3 separate regions of the Homo sapiens genome follow, and regions 1 and 2 are each linked to region 3. The links are contacts of gene promoters, found by promoter capture Hi-C in blood cells and fetal thymus (Javierre and others, 2016). All regions are on one chromosome and are shown on one strand. Each heading gives the region's core, a stretch centred on a gene start or on the middle of the fragment in contact. The rest is flanking DNA. Distances are from core to core; before and after follow the strand shown.

The links. The method cuts DNA at HindIII sites, captures the fragments that hold promoters and counts their contacts. A CHiCAGO score of 5 or more calls a contact.
Region 1: the fragment with the promoter of MRPS35 here is called in contact with the fragment with the promoter of BHLHE41 in region 3 in 2 of 17 cell types (fetal thymus and non-activated CD4 T cells); the score reaches 6.7 in fetal thymus.
Region 2: a contact is called between the fragment with the promoter of BMAL2 here and the fragment with the promoter of BHLHE41 in region 3, in 1 of 17 cell types (fetal thymus). The highest score is 9.2, in fetal thymus.

Annotation. Positions count from the first base shown.
Region 1 is chr12:27,709,555-27,712,254 of GRCh38, forward strand. MRPS35 (mitochondrial ribosomal protein S35) reads left to right here and starts at 1,278. Exons shown (of 8, transcript NM_021821.4): 1 at 1,278-1,401. The coding sequence starts at 1,290. MRPS35-DT (MRPS35 divergent transcript) reads right to left here and starts at 1,193. Exons shown (of 5, transcript XR_001749448.2): 1 at 1,109-1,193. RefSeq lists enhancers at 709-788, 819-898, 909-1,698. The HindIII fragment of the contact is 2,856 bases long and covers 1-1,633 here.
Region 2 is chr12:27,331,435-27,334,181 of GRCh38, forward strand. BMAL2 (basic helix-loop-helix ARNT like 2) reads left to right here and starts at 1,402. Exons shown (of 17, transcript NM_020183.6): 1 at 1,402-1,669. The coding sequence starts at 1,639. LOC124902906 (a long non-coding RNA gene) reads right to left here and starts at 1,363. Exons shown (of 2, transcript XR_007063255.1): 1 at 1,188-1,363. RefSeq lists silencers at 1,286-1,755, 1,776-1,895. The HindIII fragment of the contact is 1,078 bases long and covers 1,236-2,313 here.
Region 3 is chr12:26,123,746-26,126,445 of GRCh38, forward strand. BHLHE41 (basic helix-loop-helix family member e41) reads right to left here and starts at 1,292. Exons shown (of 5, transcript NM_030762.3): 1 at 973-1,292; 2 at 774-837; 3 at 327-434. The coding sequence starts at 1,034. It also overlaps a transcript of SSPN not described here. The HindIII fragment of the contact is 3,679 bases long and covers 1-2,700 here.

The sequences.
Region 1 (2,700 bases), core at 28-2,527, 1.6 Mb after region 3:
CAGCCCTGGCAACACTGTGAGACCTCATCTCTGGAAAAACAATTTTTTTTTTAATTAGCTGGGTGTGGTGGTGCGTGCCTGTAGCCTCAGCTACTTGAAAGGCTGAGGTAGGAGGATCACTTGAGCCTGGGAGGTCAAGGCTGCAGTGGGCCATGGTCCTGCTACCACATTCCAGCCTAGCAACAGAGCAAGACTCTGTCTCAAAAATAATAATAATTAATTAATTAATTAAAATAATTTTTAAAATAAAGAGAAAATAGAGAATTTATTTTATTTTATTTTATTTTTGAGGCGGAGTTTTGCTTTTATTGCCCAGGCTGGAGTGCAATGGCGCGATCTCGGCTCATCGCAACCTCTGCCTCCCGGGTTCATGCGATTCTTCTCTCGAGTAGCTGGGATTACAGGCATGTGCCACCACACCCGGCTAATTTTGTATTTTTAGTAGAGACCAGGTTTCTCCATGTTGGTCAGGCTGGTCCCAAACTCCTGACCTCAGGTGATCCACCCGCCTCGGGATCCCAAAGTGCTGGGATTACAGGCGCGAGCCACCGCGTCCGGCCGAGAATTGTTTTATTAAGGCTTGTATGTTAATTCATCCTACCGTAGAAAATTTAAGAGTGTTCATTAAAAGTTTATTTTCTAGGTCCTGATGAGTTCTGACTTTCTGTAATTCTAAGCTGATCTAACAACAAGCTAACCATATATAGCTAAAAGTTATAGGCTACGTACACGCGGTGTTCACTGTATGCCAACGCTGTACACAAATATTTGTCTATGCTAACTTGTCTGAGATCATACATCCCAGAAGTGGTGAAGTCAAGTTTGAAACCCAAGCACTCTGGCTCGGGATACTGCTTCTCTCCCCTTAGCGCATATTACTGGCATTAGTTGAAGACTTCTTTAATCCAAGTAAATGTAGAAAAGCAACAATTATAAATAACAAGAGTCCCTCGGGTAGACCGCCTGACTCTCGGATCAACTGAGGTTCCACCCAGAGCACGCCCGCCTTCAGTGAGCCGCAACCCCTATCCCTACGGTCTTTATCTGCAATTCTCTACGAACTGATTCACTCGATTTTTAAGGATTTTTTTTGTTTTCTTTTCATTACTTCTTTCAGTTTGGGGGAATCTTCCTGCACATTTGACTCGGCTCTGAGTGCGCAGACCAACGTGTTTCCTCTTTCTCCAGCCTAGGGCGGTGCCAGCCCAGGGAGCCTGCGCTTAGCGGCCCCAGGCCCGCCCCTGACACTGAACGCCGCTTGTCCCCTCCGGCTTGCCGTCCTCGCAGCCATGGCGGCCGCCGCGCTCCCAGCATGGCTGTCTCTGCAGTCGAGGGCAAGGACTCTGCGTGCATTCTCCACTGCCGTCTACTCGGCCACTCCGGTCCCGACACCTAGCCTGCGTGAGTGTCTGTCTCGTCTTCTCTGGGCTTTGGGGGAGGTGCAAGAGCGGAATACCGGCCTCATGAAGGGTGCCGCGGTGGCTGAGCCAGCGCCGCCCGGGGGAGGCCAGTGCGTCCGCTGCCAGGCCCGTCTGGTAGGAAAACCATGGACGTGGGTCTGTGCTCTGCACCCGCGTTGCCCGGCTTCTAGCCGCCTGTTTCTGCCCTGGGTGCTCTGGGAGTTTGCTCAGAAAGCTTACATCCCCCTTCCCCGTGACCTGCTCCTGTGTTGCCCCCGTCCACAGCCCCTGGCACAGGTTACTGGTGCTGTGTTGTTTATCGGGCATCGGCGCTGTTGAACCATGGATTTCCCCAAACATTAAGAGAGTCATACGGCTGTGCTAGGACAAATTGCTGCTCTGAATTCCAGGCCACCAAATGGGCGGCCTTCATTCAACAGGCGTTGATGACCTCCATTTAACAGAGATTGTAGGGATGCTTGATAGCGTGCTTACCCCGGAGGACTCTAGTGGAAAATACAGATTTATTAGCGGAGAAGTGCTATGTAGGGTGAGAGGCGCTGTGATAGAAGTGTGGCTAGAATGACGGGAGCGTTGAGGAGGAGCTGGCGTGAGTCTAATCAATAGGCGGATCCTACCTGTGCTACTTCCTGTTATATCTCTAATTTACTCTCCTCATACTACCAACTATCTAGTTCAGGTGACCATCTCATTTCTACAAGTTTTTTTTCCGTTTCCTGTTTCCCCTCTTGCTCTCCTACATTGAATTCTCAAAACAGCCAAATGAGGTTTTCAAAATTTAGATCTTGTCTTGCTGCTCTCATGTTCAAGATCTACAAATGGTTTCCCATTGTTTTCAGATAAACTATAAATACATTAATCCTTCATACTGGCTCTTCATAGGTCTAATAATTGTCTATTTTTAAATTTTCATTCTTAAATTCTTGGAATACTTAACTCCTATTGTATACCATGCAGTGTTCTAGACACTCACCGGAGATACGGCAAGGTGGGGAAGTCAATAGTATAAACAACCAAACAACTAAATAAGATGTCAGATAGGGTTTAATGCTTTGAAGAAAAATAAAGTAGAGTATTGAGAATGATGGATTTGGGGGGAGTAGTGGCCACAGGATGGTCAGGAAAGATCTTTCTGAGGAAGTGACATTTGAACAGGGCCCCAAGCCATGCAGAGATATGGGGAAAGAGCCTTTGGGGTATGGGGAACTATAAGTGCAAAGGCCAAAAGTTGAGAACAATCTGAGGGGTGTGATCAAGGAACGGGAAGAAGGACAATGTG
Region 2 (2,747 bases), core at 152-2,651, 1.2 Mb after region 3:
CATTATTACCCTTCCTGCTTTCGTATTTTAGATTCTGGATTCCCCTTCTCTTGCTTTCAGGCTTTGGTGGAAGTGAATCATCGTTTCTAAGAAACGGGGACTGCAATGATTCACAGGCAAGCTTACTGGACACCACAATAGGAACTCCTAAGAAGGAGACCTAACTTTTATGGTCTTGCTTCTACTATCTACTAGCTGAGTGATCCTGGCCAAAATACTCGACATCTCTGAACTTCTGTTTCTCTACTAAGACAGGAATTAAGAAAGAGGTTGTGAGGCTCACTGAGCCGATAAGGGGGAAAATGCATTGTAAGCAAGGCCATGTATAGAATAGTATTTACATTTTAACCCAGATCTTAAAGCCCAGGTCTAATTAATTCTACCTGTTACCCCTTGGTAAACCACCTCAAAATAGTGTACACTTGTCTGGAAAGCCAAGGTTTGATCACATTCGGGAAACCCTGTATGGAATTACTGTTTCTAGCTGCCAGGAGAAGTTGGTGTTGGTAGAATTTGGGGTGGAGTTCCAAGTCAAAGCTAGGAATGAGACGTTTCAAGACTGGTTTTGATTAGGGATGTGTCTTGGTGTGTGTTGAGGACAGCACAGTTTTCAGCACGTCTCCCTTACCTCTAAAGTCCTAGCCCCTGCTTAAGCCTGCAACAGTTTTCTCCTGTCATGCCCACTTCTGCTTGGGAACACACTTCCAAACCCTCTGCCCAGCCTCTCACAATGGCCCTAAGTACTGCCCTGAGGACACATAAGGTGCTGGTTAAGACGTTGGAATTGAGTCCTTGTAGGAAAGTTATTACCTTTAGGCTGGTTGCAAAGTTTGATTTGGTGTCTTCTCTACTGTGACTTTCCTTTACTTACTTCTACTAGATTACCAAGGAATGGGTCTAGGGACCAGTGGGAGGGCAGCAAACCAGTGTATTCTAGACACGTGGCCATAGGATGTAGGGCTGTCAAGTGATGCCCAAAAGATCTTGTTTCTGGATTTACCCAACCGTTCCAGGAGGCAAAACGGCTTCCTCGGGACCCTCTCTCTGTCATCTACACTCTCGTCTCTGCAGCTAAGCCCTTCCTTAAGCAGAAAAGAGCAGGGTCTCTCGTCCAGCACCCTCCTCCCCAACCCTAGCCCCGTGCCCTCCGCTAACCCACCGTGCAATTATCTTCATTCATCCTTTACCTTTGCCCCGAGGGTCTAACAACTGCAATCTTCGGAATGCTGGGACAAAGCTTACTATGAGCATGGAAGCCTGTTTTCAATAGGGTGGTTGCTAGAAGGACTCAACTGGCCTTTTAGTGCTTTGCTGCTCGCGGGAGGGCTCGGCGGGGCGGTGTCCGCAGCGACTCCGCCCTTGGCCCGGGTCTCTTTCCCGCCGGGAAGCCCCGCGGCGCCCAGAGCGGCGGGCGGCTGGCTCCAGTCCGCATGCTCAGTAGCTGCTGCCGGCCGGGCTGCGGGGCGGCGTCCCGTGCGCGCCTACGGGCTGCGGTGGCGGCCGCCGCGGCACCCGGCAGGGCCCGCCAGTCCCCGCTTCCCTGCTCCAGAGCCGCCGCCTGGGCCGGGGCAGGGCGGGCCCGGGGCTCCTCCATGCTGCCAGCCGCGGGGCTGCGGAGCCGACCAAGTGGCTCCTGCGATGGCGGCGGAAGAGGAGGCTGCGGCGGGAGGTGAGGTTGCCGGTGGCGAGGCGACGGCCCCAGGTGGGCGCGCGGCGTCTGACGCGCTGGGGGCGTCCCCGCGACGCCAGGTCTGCCCCCGCTGCCCCGAGGGAAGCGCCCGCGCCTGTCCTCTCGGGCCGGAGCATCGCCTCCGAGGGGCGGTGGGACAAGGCCGCCCCGTGGGGCACAGGTGCGGCGCGGCGCCCGGCGCGTCCTCCCGGGGAGCGGGACGCGGGGAGGGGAGCTGGGGTCGCCGCCGGCGCTCAGGACGCGGTGTCTTGGTCCCGGGCCGGGCGCATTGGCGAAAGGGAGCCAGCGGGGGACCTTGCACCCGGCGCTGGGAGCATCCGCCTCCACCCACTGCTGGGCGCCCGCGTCGGCGTCGGCATGGCATGCACTGCTGCGGGGACTTCCTATATTTCTTCTTTCTTTTGTGTAAACCAGTTGTCAGCAGCCTCGGACCTAGCCCGGTTCCTGTGAACCCCTCCCCTCTGAGCTGATAATACTCGCGGCTTCCCGGCTTGAACCGCTGCCCCGCGGTGGAGCGCGCAGGTGGGCAGGTGCGCGTGGACGCGGGGCCACACTCCGGGATCGCAGCCCGCTCCGCGACAGCCCTCCATAAGCGACAGGCGGCTCGTGTCTTTCACCGCTGAAGCTTCAGGAAAGCCGTCAGTGGAGTTAGCTTGTTCGATTATGTATTTCTGTGGTATTTTTGTGAATGGAGTTGGAAGTTTGCGGTGCTTTTTCCTTCTCGCTAGTATTCACTGGCAGTATTCTGTAGTTCCTTACAACGGGGCCTTTGGGACCACTGCTCACAATTACGGAATGAATACAAAATAGCTGTTGTTTAAGACAAATGAGAGGCAGGAAAACAGAAATAACTGAAGGAAGACTGGCAGAGAAGTTCAGGGAAGCAGTTAATTCTCCCCTTTCCTTTTGGAATAAGATGATAGAGTTTTAGATTCTTCTCTGAAATAAGGCAATGAGAGGAGGTGGCTTTCGAAATTCTAATATAATTGTGGGAATTTACATCATGGGGCGATTTCAGAAATTCGATCATTTGAATATTCGTAGTCTTAGGTAAACC
Region 3 (2,700 bases), core at 42-2,541:
AGTGGTGCAAAAAAGAAACGGGCACTTGGTTACTTAAAAACACACATTTGGCTTAATTGGCTGTCCATTCAGCACAGCAATTTAAGCAAACACTTTGAAAGAAGTACTGTTCTTTTACTTCTTGAGCTTTCCACAAGACAGGTTATAAATGATTTCTTGCCTTCAGCTGGGAGCACCTACTCCAGTTTGCGGGAAACTCTGTACGGTATAGCACAAGTTTTAAGTCAGGAACTTATATTTACATTTATTCTTATATTTTCTGGGAGTCGCACCAGACTATTAACACGCCCTTGGAGAGCAGCAAAGAATGAAAATGTGCATCTTACTGTCAATTTCAGATGTTCAGGCAGTAAATCTTTCAGCTGAGCAATGCATTCATTAATTCGGTCTCTTCTTTTCTTTTCTATTAATCTGTGCGGTAATTTGTAGGTATCCTTAATATATGAGAGTCATGGAAAAGAGAAAACAGTAAGCGAAACATTCACTTATTGGATATTACCCTCGTCTGCCCCCCCCGCCCCCCCACCATAAAACATACTATGTGATAAACTACACCCAAGAAACCTCTTTCCTCTGGACTGTTCTGCAATGCAATTTAAATTCAGGTATGATGTTTAATATCCCCCTGAGAGTACCCAGCAAGCCACTTAAAATTCACAGTTGGGGAAGCTCAGGGGCTGGAATATATTTGCGGGCAGAGCTTCACTGTGAAATCAATGGCTCTAATTAACTACCCATGCAGGTTATGAGGAATATCGGGAACTTACACTTACCTTGGTGTCGTCTCGTTTCATGCTCCTTTTGGGTTTACACATATACAAAGAGGAATAGTCCAGTCTGCAAAACAGAAATCAGCATCAGGCACCCATTCGGGGAGGGGCTCTGCCCTCGCCAGCTCCATACCACTTTCTGGAGAAGAAAAAAATCAAACCAAAGCCTAGACAGATATTCGCAAGGGTGCGTGCACCTTACCCTATAAAATCTCTATGTTCCAGTAACTGTCTCTCTTGCAAATGAGGAATTCCTTCGTCCATGTTCAACTGCTGTTCGTTTCCTCTGTTTCGATTTTTGGGGCTCTGTACAATAATCTGTGGGACGGTAGGCTTGGGAGACCTTGGGGGGATCTGTGCGTCTCCAGTCTCTCTCTCGCTCTCCCTCTTCAGTGCAGTGTTGAAAGTGTGAAGCAGTTGGTCCCCCCCCTCCACCGCGCTCGCACACACACACGCACACACACGCACACTCGCGCCGGCCCCACTGCGCTGGTAGTTTGCTCTCACTCCAGGCAGTGTTTGGCCACAGGGCACGCGCGTCGCCGGCCAGACCAGCACCCAGCTCACGTGCGGAACGTACCATCCGCGGTCCAGCCCGGAGGGGGGCGGGGGAGGAGGGGCCGGGCCGGGCGGGGGCGTCGGGAGAAGGCGGCGAGAGAAGGCGAACGGCAGGAGGGGGCGGGGACACCTGATCAGGGCCACCGGAAAGGAAAAACAACTTCGGCCAAGCTATTCATCTTCCCAAAGGCGATGCAGTCGGCAGGAGGAGGGGGGAGTGGGGGTGCAGGGGTGCGGGGCAGCCTGAGCTTCCTTGGCTCCAAAATGCGACTCCCTGGGTTCGTCCGTTGTTACGGTGCAGGAATGTGAACGTGGCTTTTTGCTTTTCCACCGATTGTGCTGTTGGTTTGAACCATAGAAAGGAAGTGAAAAGAGAATTCGCGGTGGGTAAACTTGAGTCCCAAAGGAAATTTTGGAGACTTGTTTGCTCACTGATCAGTGGCCTGGAGGGACTCCTTGGCGCTGGGTGGAGAGGTTGCCTCGAGAAGAAGCAACTTGCAATCCGCTCCTTGAAGGATTTAAGATACATGAAAACGTTGTCACTGGGTCCGAATGTCGCAATCCAAGTGTCTTTCGGTGACACGGCGTCCCTGGGCCAACTAAACTTCCCCGCAGCAGCCGGAATTGCGGTGCCACTAATCACAGCAGCAGATGACGACGTTTGGGGCCGCGTGTGCTCCTGGAGGAACGCGGCGGGGAGCGAGCCGGGGTTGAGTGGGGGCTGGGAAGGGAGAAGGGGGTGGCACGAGAGGGGGTGGCACGAGAGGGGCTACCACAGAAAAGCTATGCAGCATTTATCACCCGCCCGCTCAACTCTGCCGCGTTCTGAGCCTCCGGTGACGCTACGTGCTTTCCCCATCCCCCCGCCCCCCCGCGCGATAAGAGACGCCCGGAGTGTGCAGAGCCCACGTTTACTACCGCTGGCACCTCCAAAGCCTCCCTCCTTAATCCGGTCTCAAACGGGTACCAGCACAGGGCCAGCAACGTGATCCGACCTGCCGCTGCTGCCACATCACTGCTCGGGGAACCCGTGCGCGCGCGCGCTCGCCCTGCAGCCGCGGCGCTCGGCGCCGGGAATCACAGGCCAGCAAGAGCCGGGTTACCTTTCCCCAGAGCCACCCTGGGAGCATGACTCACTGCTAGTGAGAGTTACCGGGAGGTGCCCGGGGATGCGCACTGCCCACGCCGCCCTGCCAGCCCAGGGGAAGGCATGTCCTGAGGGACTCCCAGGGGTGGGATGGAGGCTATATATATATTTCTCTAGATATACATAAAGACATAGAGAAAAAAACCAAGGTTTTTCCTGCACAGAGAGGGATATTTACATTCTCCCCGGGGTGATCTCTGAAACGTTGATTATTGCCGGTGATAA